Regions from separate parts of the Homo sapiens genome. Here regions 2 and 3 are each linked to region 1. Evidence: promoter capture Hi-C in 16 types of primary human blood cells and fetal thymus (Javierre and others, 2016). All regions are on one chromosome and are shown on one strand. Each heading gives the region's core, a stretch centred on a gene start or on the middle of the fragment in contact. The rest is flanking DNA. Distances are from core to core; before and after follow the strand shown.

Evidence for each region. Contacts are between HindIII fragments. The CHiCAGO score rates a contact against its expected background, and 5 or more counts as called.
Region 2: a fragment that was not itself captured here is called in contact with the fragment with the promoter of C8orf34 in region 1 in 1 of 17 cell types (M1 macrophages); the score reaches 5.2 in M1 macrophages.
Region 3: the fragment with the promoter of PREX2 here is called in contact with the fragment with the promoter of C8orf34 in region 1 in 2 of 17 cell types (monocytes and M0 macrophages); the score reaches 5.1 in monocytes.

What each region holds. Positions count from the first base shown.
Region 1 is chr8:68,329,503-68,332,504 of GRCh38, forward strand. It overlaps C8orf34 (chromosome 8 open reading frame 34), which reads left to right and starts at 1,453. Exons shown (of 14, transcript NM_052958.4): 1 at 1,453-1,837. The coding sequence starts at 1,511. It overlaps C8orf34-AS1 (C8orf34 antisense RNA 1), which reads right to left and starts at 1,989. Exons shown (of 3, transcript NR_038877.1): 1 at 1,805-1,989. The HindIII fragment of the contact is 3,988 bases long and covers 1-3,002 here.
Region 2 is chr8:67,838,013-67,841,014 of GRCh38, forward strand. No RefSeq gene overlaps it. Among named protein-coding and RNA genes, the nearest start is that of CPA6, 93 kb to the left of the region's middle. The HindIII fragment of the contact is 208 bases long and covers 1,312-1,519 here.
Region 3 is chr8:67,950,550-67,953,551 of GRCh38, forward strand. PREX2 (phosphatidylinositol-3,4,5-trisphosphate dependent Rac exchange factor 2) reads left to right here and starts at 1,497. Exons shown (of 40, transcript NM_024870.4): 1 at 1,497-1,986. The coding sequence starts at 1,846. The HindIII fragment of the contact is 877 bases long and covers 1,497-2,373 here.

The DNA.
Region 1 (3,002 bases), core at 203-2,702:
TGGCTCTACGCTATACCTTTTAGCAAATAGAAATGTTGGTATTCACTCTGTGTATTTAATTTCTCCTGGACACATTAAAAAATACATAAGTAAATATACCTTCGAACCAAAATGGAAAGCACGAGGCAACCCTGGACACCTCACTGCTATTTAACTTAACCCTCCCTAGGCAGATCATATGAGTCCGATTGTAAAAGTATTAATGTGGACATCTTTCCACTCTGGATCAAGTCCATTTCAGGTTATCAGGGATGGTTAAGCTCCTAGCTATTCTAGCAGATTTCTTATGTCTTAATGCATGAAATTAATAATAGTTCCTGGGATATTCCACACTTATCTATTACATGTTTCCACATATTTAAAATACAGAAGGAAAACATGAACACCAATAAAGAAACTATGAGTAACAGAAATCCAGAACACAGTGAAGAAAGAAAGAAAAAAATATATACTGCTGCAGTCAGCTTTTAGGAAAACTGTTTCCATCATTCTGAAAATTTATATTTATTAGAAATAAATCTAATTTTGGCAGCACATCATGGTTAGGAGCCAGGGAAATTGTCATTGGGACCTTAGTATTGTATTTCACAAGAAAGAGAGCTCTGTGAGGAAGCCTGGGCTATCTGCAAACCTTCGACTCGGAAATCCCTGCATAATAAGAAAGGTATTGGCTAAATTTGAGCAGCTCACGCAGTATCTAGAGGAAACATTATGAAGTGGGATAGTGTGGTGTCTGAGATGCAGTTATAGGTATACAGACATGACTCAAGGCGTGGATTAGGAAGGCCAACTTTGGAGGGGAGGGCTGGCTCGCTCATTTCTCTTCTCCCTGTCAAATGCTGAAAGGCTGGTTCCAGCCTTTGAGCTCCTGCACTTTGAGAGTTTTCAGCTGGGTTCTCAGGCTGCGTTCACCCGTCGACTTGCTCCAGGCCAAACCAGATTTTGAAAAGGAAGGCAACTTCTTTTTCGCGGCAAACCCTTAAACCCACGCACCTTCTCAAAACTCTGCCCTTCTCAACCCCTGCGCTAGAGTAGGCAGGGCAGAAGGTGCTGAGGAGAGGCTCAGAAGGGGCGGTGGGGACGATCCCCTTTCGAACTGCATTTGTAGCTGCCAAGGAGTAGCCAACAAGCACCAGATTTATGTGCACTTTGAAAGAAGCACCTTCACCATTGGCTTTTTAAGCGGCGCTGTCGCTAGGGAGCGGCTGGTAGGGCGAGCAGCCTCGGGGAGCAGCCCGGGCTGTTTGTTCCGTCACCGGGGAAAGGAGGTACACACAGTCGCGCGCGCACGGACACACACACACACGCACGCACGCACACACACCGGTGGCGAGTTCGAGCCCCGCGGCCCCTGTCCGCCCGCGTGCGCCCCTCGACACAGCTCGCCTCCCGCCCCCTGATTCCTGCTGCTGCCGCCCAGAGGAGAAAGGAACCTCTGCCTCGAATTTCCCCACTGCGCCGGGCGCTGCGGAGAGCGGCGAGGGTGGGCGCGAGGCGGAGAACGCGATGAATGAGTTCTCCCCTCGCCTCGGAGTTGTCTGAGTTGGCGGCGCTGCGCCCAGGCTTCCGGCTCTCAGCGCCCCACGCGCGCGTGGCTCCCCGGGCTGCCACCCACGCCCGCGGCCGGGGCCGAGCCAGCCACGCAGGGCAGCCGAGGCTCCGGAGCTCCTGTCCCGGCCCCAGTCCGGGTAAAAGGAGGGTTGTCCCCAGCGGAGGCGCACAGCCGCGCGTTCTCCCTGCACTCTCTTCGCGGTCCCATCTGTTCCCCATGGCGTCTCATCCGCAAACCCGGATCCAGGCTTACCTGGAGAAGAACAAGATCGGTCCCCTGTTTGAGGTAAGGCGCTGTGGAGGAGGGCAGTCCCGTTGTCTTTAGGGGAAGGGGTGCAGTAATGAAAACAGAACACTCCCAATCCCACCCCTCCCAGGGAAGGAGGGCTAGAGAACCAACGCGCGGGAGAGGGCGCCCTGGGATTCACTGGCATTCGCTCTGTCCCGGCCAGGTGTCCTGGAACGCGGCCGGGCGGGCACTTAGCCAGTTACCTGAACGCGGACAGGTGAGCTCGGGAGGGCCCAGCCTCAGCCTGGCAGGGGAAGTTTTGGCCCTCTGACTGTCCTGCACCTCTCAGCTACATGTTCAGGACCCGGGCAGGCTGAGGCAGGCGACGCATACGGATGCACACACTCAGACTGTGTTGCACACGCACACTTTCTTTTTTGAATTCACGCTATCTTGAGTGTTCGTGTTGGATTTTCTTTTTTCTTTTCTTTTCTTTCCTTCTTTTTTTTTTTTTTTTTTTTTTTTTTTTTAATGAGGGCGGTAATAGAACCCGAAAAGGTGGAGGAGGTGCTTAGCAGTTAATACAATTAACTGGAAGACAGCTGAACTGGTGAGGAGTAGGCTTCAGTCGGTGCGGGCGTGATGAATGAAATTGGCAAACTGAGAGACTGCCATTTGGTCACTGGACGAAAGGAGAGTCCTTTGCACTGCAGACCCCACATGTGTTAGCAGGAGAAAGGGACGGAGAAAGGTTCTGAAAAGCACACACGTATTTGTGGAAGAAGACTATAGCTCTGAGCTGGTTTTGTTTTTTTTTCTCTCTCTCGCCATTAAAGAATTTAAGACAAAAATACAGTAGAAGGAAGAGCGCGAGGACACGAGAAAATGAGAACAAGAGATTGAAGCCTGGCACCAGCAAAGCGTCCCGCGGGTTGCCAGGGTGCTGAGCAGGGGTGGGGCGTGCGGACCGTAGTCAGAAGTGGAGGCCCTTGCGGAGGGACTCCCTTGGTCCCATCCAGTTCAGGGGGCACTGACCGGCGGCGAGAGTTCGCGGGAGGGTCGAGGTGCTCCCGCCTTGCCCCCGCCTTGCCCCCGCCTTGCCCCCGCCCCCCACGTCTCCCAGAAGCAGTTGTAGCTGTTCTTAACAGCTTGGTTTGGGGTGAGGGCTTGGTATGGGGAGGAGGTTACGTGTCAGTGTCTGAGAGAGGCAGAATCGCGGCAA
Region 2 (3,002 bases), core at 166-2,665, 490 kb before region 1:
TGGAGACTTTTGAGCATCTCATTTGTCACATAAATATTTAGTAATAGCAATAGTAAACATAACCCTGTTCCCAAGGAGAAATAATTGAGAACTGACCCTGACTGCAGTATCTGGAGGATGACAGATCTTGTTGTTCTTTGATCACAGAACTTTGTCATACGTATACATCTAGCACATATCACTGTAGTATGGTGTGAGTGCTACATGTCATGGGTTATAAGATCACAAAATTCAATGAAAGGAAGGAAGTATAGGAAAAGTAATGAGATCGTCTAAGTAATAAATGCAGTGTGACAGTCATGGCATTGAAGATGAAATCAAATATGCATGGTTAATAGCATTGGTGGAAACTTCCTCTTCTGCTAGATGTTTTATTCTTAATAAATCTTAACCAGATGCATGTATGTTTGCTACATTGCCATTTTAATGTGAAACTGACTTTTCTAACCAACTCTTTTCCTGCAATACTTAGTATCAGTTGCTACCATCCCTGACCAGCATGATATCATATGGAAGTTGTTTTTGACTGAGGAAAATTTTCAATGTATCAGTCATGTAAAATGAATACAGATAACTCATCATGCTTATTCTGTCATTCGATTCTGGCCTGTCTGTAACCCTACTTTAGTTTTCATTATACTTACCCCTTGAATGAATTAAGAAAAACTTGTTAAAATTACTCGTGAACAGTTTGCTCCGATGCTATAAGCAAAGTATTTGATAGATTAGTAGCTCTGACTCTCAGATGCAAAATTCATGAACTTGAATTCTTTTTCCAACTTTTTTTTCCCTAGGTCTTTCACATGTTCCTGACCTTGATTTTAAATTTTAACTTAGCTCTACTGAATCTATGATATTTGGACTATGTGCTAATTGTCAAATTAAAGGTACTTTCTTCTCACATAATGATGCCTTTTGTACATTATAAAGTAAAAGGAGAAGACTATACATCCATTTTTAAATGCTCTAATTTCTTTCTAACATTCTTAAATTGATATGCCATTGTTGTACATTTTTGGTGGGCACATAACTGCTCTAATTTCTTACACACATACATATAACAACATGTCAATGGTTGTTATCCTCCAGTGATGGTGGTATGGTAGCAGACATTTGTGGTTTGGCTCCCATCCCCATTCTTTCTCCTTCAGGCTTTAGCCCCCAGTCTCACTAATGGTATCAAGGTCTCCACTACTTGTAGCCCTTGTGGTCTGGGAAGTGGGTTCCACCCCTGGTTCCCCCAGTCTGTTGGCACACTGAGCTAGGGGAGGACTCAGGGCCAGGCCCTGAACCAACACATCTCATTGCCAAAGCTTTGGTTTCAGCCATCAAGGCTGCAGAGCCTTTCCCATGGGATGTGGAGTTGGAGGTAAGACAGTACTGGCATTTTTGCAGTACAGTCACACTGCAGTCTCTGTCGGGGAGAAAAGATTTCTTTCCTCACCCATTAGTAGGTTCATGGATGAGGCACCTATATAAAAGATTAACAAGAGAAAAGCATAGAAATTTATTTAATAAAAGCTTTATGAGAGCCTTTAGAAATTAAGACTCAAAGAGTTAGGAAAACCTGTGTATTTTTATGCTTAGGTTGAATGAAGAGGTGCACAGTGGTGAAAAGTATGAGTGGACCAAGGAAATGTGATCTAATGGTAATAAACTGAGGGGACTTAGCAAGGCCTGCTTACTCAGATTCTTCTCTGTGTCCTTATGTCTTCAGAGATGAGGATGTGTCTTTCCTCCAGGTATAGGGAGGGCACCCCTAGAATGGGGGTCTTATGATCTGCTTCACAGGAGAAGAACAAGGGGAAGATGAGAGAAACCTTTCTGCTTCTGCTGTTTTCTCAAATGCCAATGTGCCATATTTTGGGTTAATGTGTCCTGAGCCCAGCCACCCTGAAGAGACAGTCTGACTGGGAATGGAATGAGCCTCATGGACAGCAGAGTCAGAGGAGGCAAGATAGAAATCTGGAGCTGGTGACACCATTTGACCTCAGATCAAGTGGCACCTGAAATTAGTTCAAACCCTGCTCTTTTCAGTTTTAGGAGCCAAGAGATTCCCTTTATGCTAAAGCAATTTGAATTGGGTTTTACGGCTGCCTACAGTAGAAAGAGAGTCTTAACCATTTACAAATCATGGATGATTATGTCCTTAGTATTTTACTATATTTTTCATTTTTTTCTATGATGAATATAATGGCCACAAAAAAAAATCCCATCCCCACCCCCCAATAAATGTTGCAAAATTGTTTTCAGTTCTCCAGGATGGTACTGATGAATTATTTTCCTTATTTTGGGTGTTGAGAAATTTTGTTTTTTTCTTTATGTTGCATCTGAATATTTACTTTTAGTTTGCAGGTAAATAATTTATTCTCTTAAAGAAACAATTTATTCCTAAATCTTGTTCAAGCTGTTTTGGTAGTGGACAATACCCAGGATGAGTTTAGAATAATCCTCTTACTTTATTTTAAGCTAACTTAGATTTAAGAAAGACTAAATTTTCTTTGTCTAGGTCAATATTTACCATTCTATATAGATTTCCATCCTAGGTGAAGAGAACTTTGACACATGTTTTTCTTCTGGGACAACTTTCTTTCAATTAGTTGGTACATATTTTATTAATACAAGGCCATAAGTTTAATATGGCCCCCACAGAATAATTTTGATTAACAAATATTTGCTGAGAAACAGTCTGGGTTCTTAAACTTCTCAGTTTAAAAATTGCTGAATTCAGGGAAGTCGAAGCATGAAGGTAGGGTGCAGGTGGGAGATAGGTATCACATTTAATTGAGAGAAGCCAGAAGGTTGGCATGGAAATCTGGAAAAAATAAGTTATAGATGTTCCAGGAGTTTGTTTCAGGCACTAAGTATACATGAATAAGAAACACCATCCCCACCCTCAGAGACTATGTAGCTATTTAGGGAGTGGTGACATTTTCTGTAACCCTAGATAGCTCACTCATGTTAAAACCTATGTGCCAGTTAGGGCTCTTGGTGGAAAGCAG
Region 3 (3,002 bases), core at 247-2,746, 380 kb before region 1:
CCTAGGGAAAGGTGCAGACCTGGGGAGGAAGAAATGCTGCCTGTAGTACATGGGGAGAAGGTTCAGTCATGCTTGCATTTCCCATTCATTTCTGGATGTGTGCTTCCTATGTCTTCCGCTTCTTTTGTTTATTGTTTACTAGGTGCTGTGAGGTCTGCTCTTTAATATGCTTTGCCCTTTGTTCTTCTGCCACAGGGTGTGAAGCCATCTATGTTGTTTGCCCTTTGCTCTTGGCTACCTCTAAATAGTCATTTGTAAAAGAAAGAGGAAAATCACATCTTGCCCATCAGCTTTGTGTACATCATTCGAAAATTTTATCTTTAATATACAAAGAAAGTACAATCCTTCTTTGTGTGGTTACAGAGGGGAATGGTCACACTATGCTCTGGAAAGACATCATCTGGAAAACCAATAGGTAATTATTTTAATGTAAATATAGTGAAAAGCATCTTTATGTTTTAGAGTTTTGCTAATGCTTTCAGTGACTGCAACAAATTAACATACCACTTTCTTGCAACAACTCTATTCACTCTTCAGTTTATTTAAATGCCATTAGTTTTAGACTGAAGTTGATCTGTGGAAAATATATGTGTATAATACCAATTCAAAAAAATATATAAATTGTTTTGTTTGTTAAATGTATTGGAAATATTTAAGGCTTAGTTTCCAAGTGAGAAAAGGCAATAAACTTTAACTTTAAAATCAAGAATGTTCTGTGTGTCTATCTTCAAAAATCTAAGATTATTTCCGTTATCTATCTAGCTTTCTATCTTCTGATGAGCATTCAACAACAGCTTTATCTTTTCAATTAGTGACACCGTCTTAAATCACAGCAGCTCTTAGAAACAAAACTGGCACAAATACCCTCGCCTCTCAATGGATTTACATACTATCTTGATGTTGAAAAAAGTTGTAGACATGGAAAACAGCACAGTACAAGGGTGATGCTTATTTTATCTGGGGTTTATTGCATGGGCAGAGGCTGTCATTTTCCCATAGTGTCTTCATTTATTATGCTAATTGACTTTCCAAGCTCAGACTGGAGGGTGTCTGCCCTGTGAACTATTCTCAGTTGGAGGGTTTTAAAAGCAAACCTGTTTTGTGCCTGAATGAAACAAAAAATCAATGTGTTTCTTTTCAAAGAGGGAGGGTCAATACCGTGGTTGTTTTTGTTCCCATCCAGTTATGTAACCGTGGGGACTTGTTTCTTTGCTTTCAGGATTTGTACGAAACACATTAAAGTTAAACAATAGCGGAGGCTTAGGAGTAACCCTCGAGCTGCGCCTTGGAGTGTGTGTCCCTGGGATTGGGAACCTCCTGTGAGTTCCATATCAAGTGCTGCTGTGTGTGTGTGTGTGTGTGTGTGTGCGTGTGTGTGTGTGTGTGCGCGCGCGCGCGTGTGTGTGATTAGCCAGTACGCAGTACTTCCCCAGGGTTGTGTTTCCTTTTTCCTGAGATTTGGCGAAGGGTAAAGGGTCGGAGTCACATGGATACAAAGCTTTTGATTAATGTCCAAGTCACTGCTGTGGCTGCCGAAGCCGCTTCCCCTCCAGCCCCGGCCGTGTGAGGCCAGAGCAGCGGGGCCGGGCGCGCAGGGCCTGGCCGGAGCCCCCACTCCCAGGAGTTTCCTCTGCAGAGCCCCGCGCCCCCCGCGCCGGGATTTCAGCCCGATCCCCTCCTCTCCCTGCGCCCAGCCTCTCCCCAGCATGTAAAGTCTTCTGTCTCTCCTCGGAGTTGGCGGAGGCGGCAACTTTCCATTCTCGCCGCCGGGGGCCGGGCAGCAGCGGGCGCGCGGGTCAGCGCTCAGCACGGCGGGCAGCGCCGCGCTGCGCACCGCCGCCGACCATGAGCGAGGACAGCCGCGGAGACAGCCGCGCCGAGAGCGCCAAGGACCTGGAGAAGCAGCTTCGCCTGCGCGTGTGCGTGCTCAGCGAGCTCCAGAAGACCGAGCGGGACTATGTGGGCACGCTGGAGTTCCTGGTGTCGGTGAGTGTCCCCGGCAGACGCAGGGGGACGTCCGGGCGGCGCGGGGCGCGGGTCCCGGAGTGGCTGCGGGAAGGACGCGCGGCATTGTCTGTGCGGGGACCCGGGACGGGTCGGGGCATCACAGGCGCGGGAATCCACGTGTGGACTCTGCGTTCGCGGGCGCGGTGACCCCCGCGGGGATTTGTTGGTGCCCCGAGACTCACTGAGTTGCGGGGGCCTTGGAGACCTCCAGGTCTGAAAAGTTAGCTCTAGAGAAGAGAGCTCCAGTCCAGGGAATCCCGGCTGCCCTATCTTCCCTCACTTTTCTTTTACCCGCCTCCCCAGTCTGCTCAAGTGCACTGTGTAATTGATTTTCCTTCTTGTTCTTTCCTGGAGACTTTGTTTTAAAGCTTTGGTTTTGTGATTAAAGGTCCAGTCGGCTACATCCAGGTACACTAAGTTAAAAAAAATCCTTGAATGTGCTCGAGCTTGAGTTCGTTACTCAGATAACATGGCAGTGGCCGCTTTAGTTATGGTCTTTGAGACAGAGGATTCTGGTGTAGGGGTACAGAGAGAGCAGCGGGGTGATGATCTCTAGCAGCTGTTGGATATTAAAGCCACATGTGGCGCTCACCCTGTCCTAGTCTTACAATTCCCTCCCCCCCGCCCCCCGCCCCGGCTTAAATCTGTCTTCTGCTCAGTTTCTGGTCCCCTGTTTACATGGCCCATGAGAGTGCTGTAATCAAGCTTCGGGACTTCGTGGAAGTGGGGATGTACTTATATTCCACGTTTCTGCTTGACTCACTGCCATCTGCTTTGAAAACGTCTCATTCATTTTAGGGCCGAAGGGGCAAAACTGAGTGAAAGTAACTGCTGAGATAACACTCAAAAGTTGAATTTTTCCTATTCATTGCTGAAAAGACAAAGAATTTGAGCCTTGGCTTCTTTCCACCCAGATTCCTGGGAGAGCATCATTCAAAGAACCAGGAGCTTTAGTTTTTGTGATCTCATCCAAATCCTTCTCCTTCCAACAACCA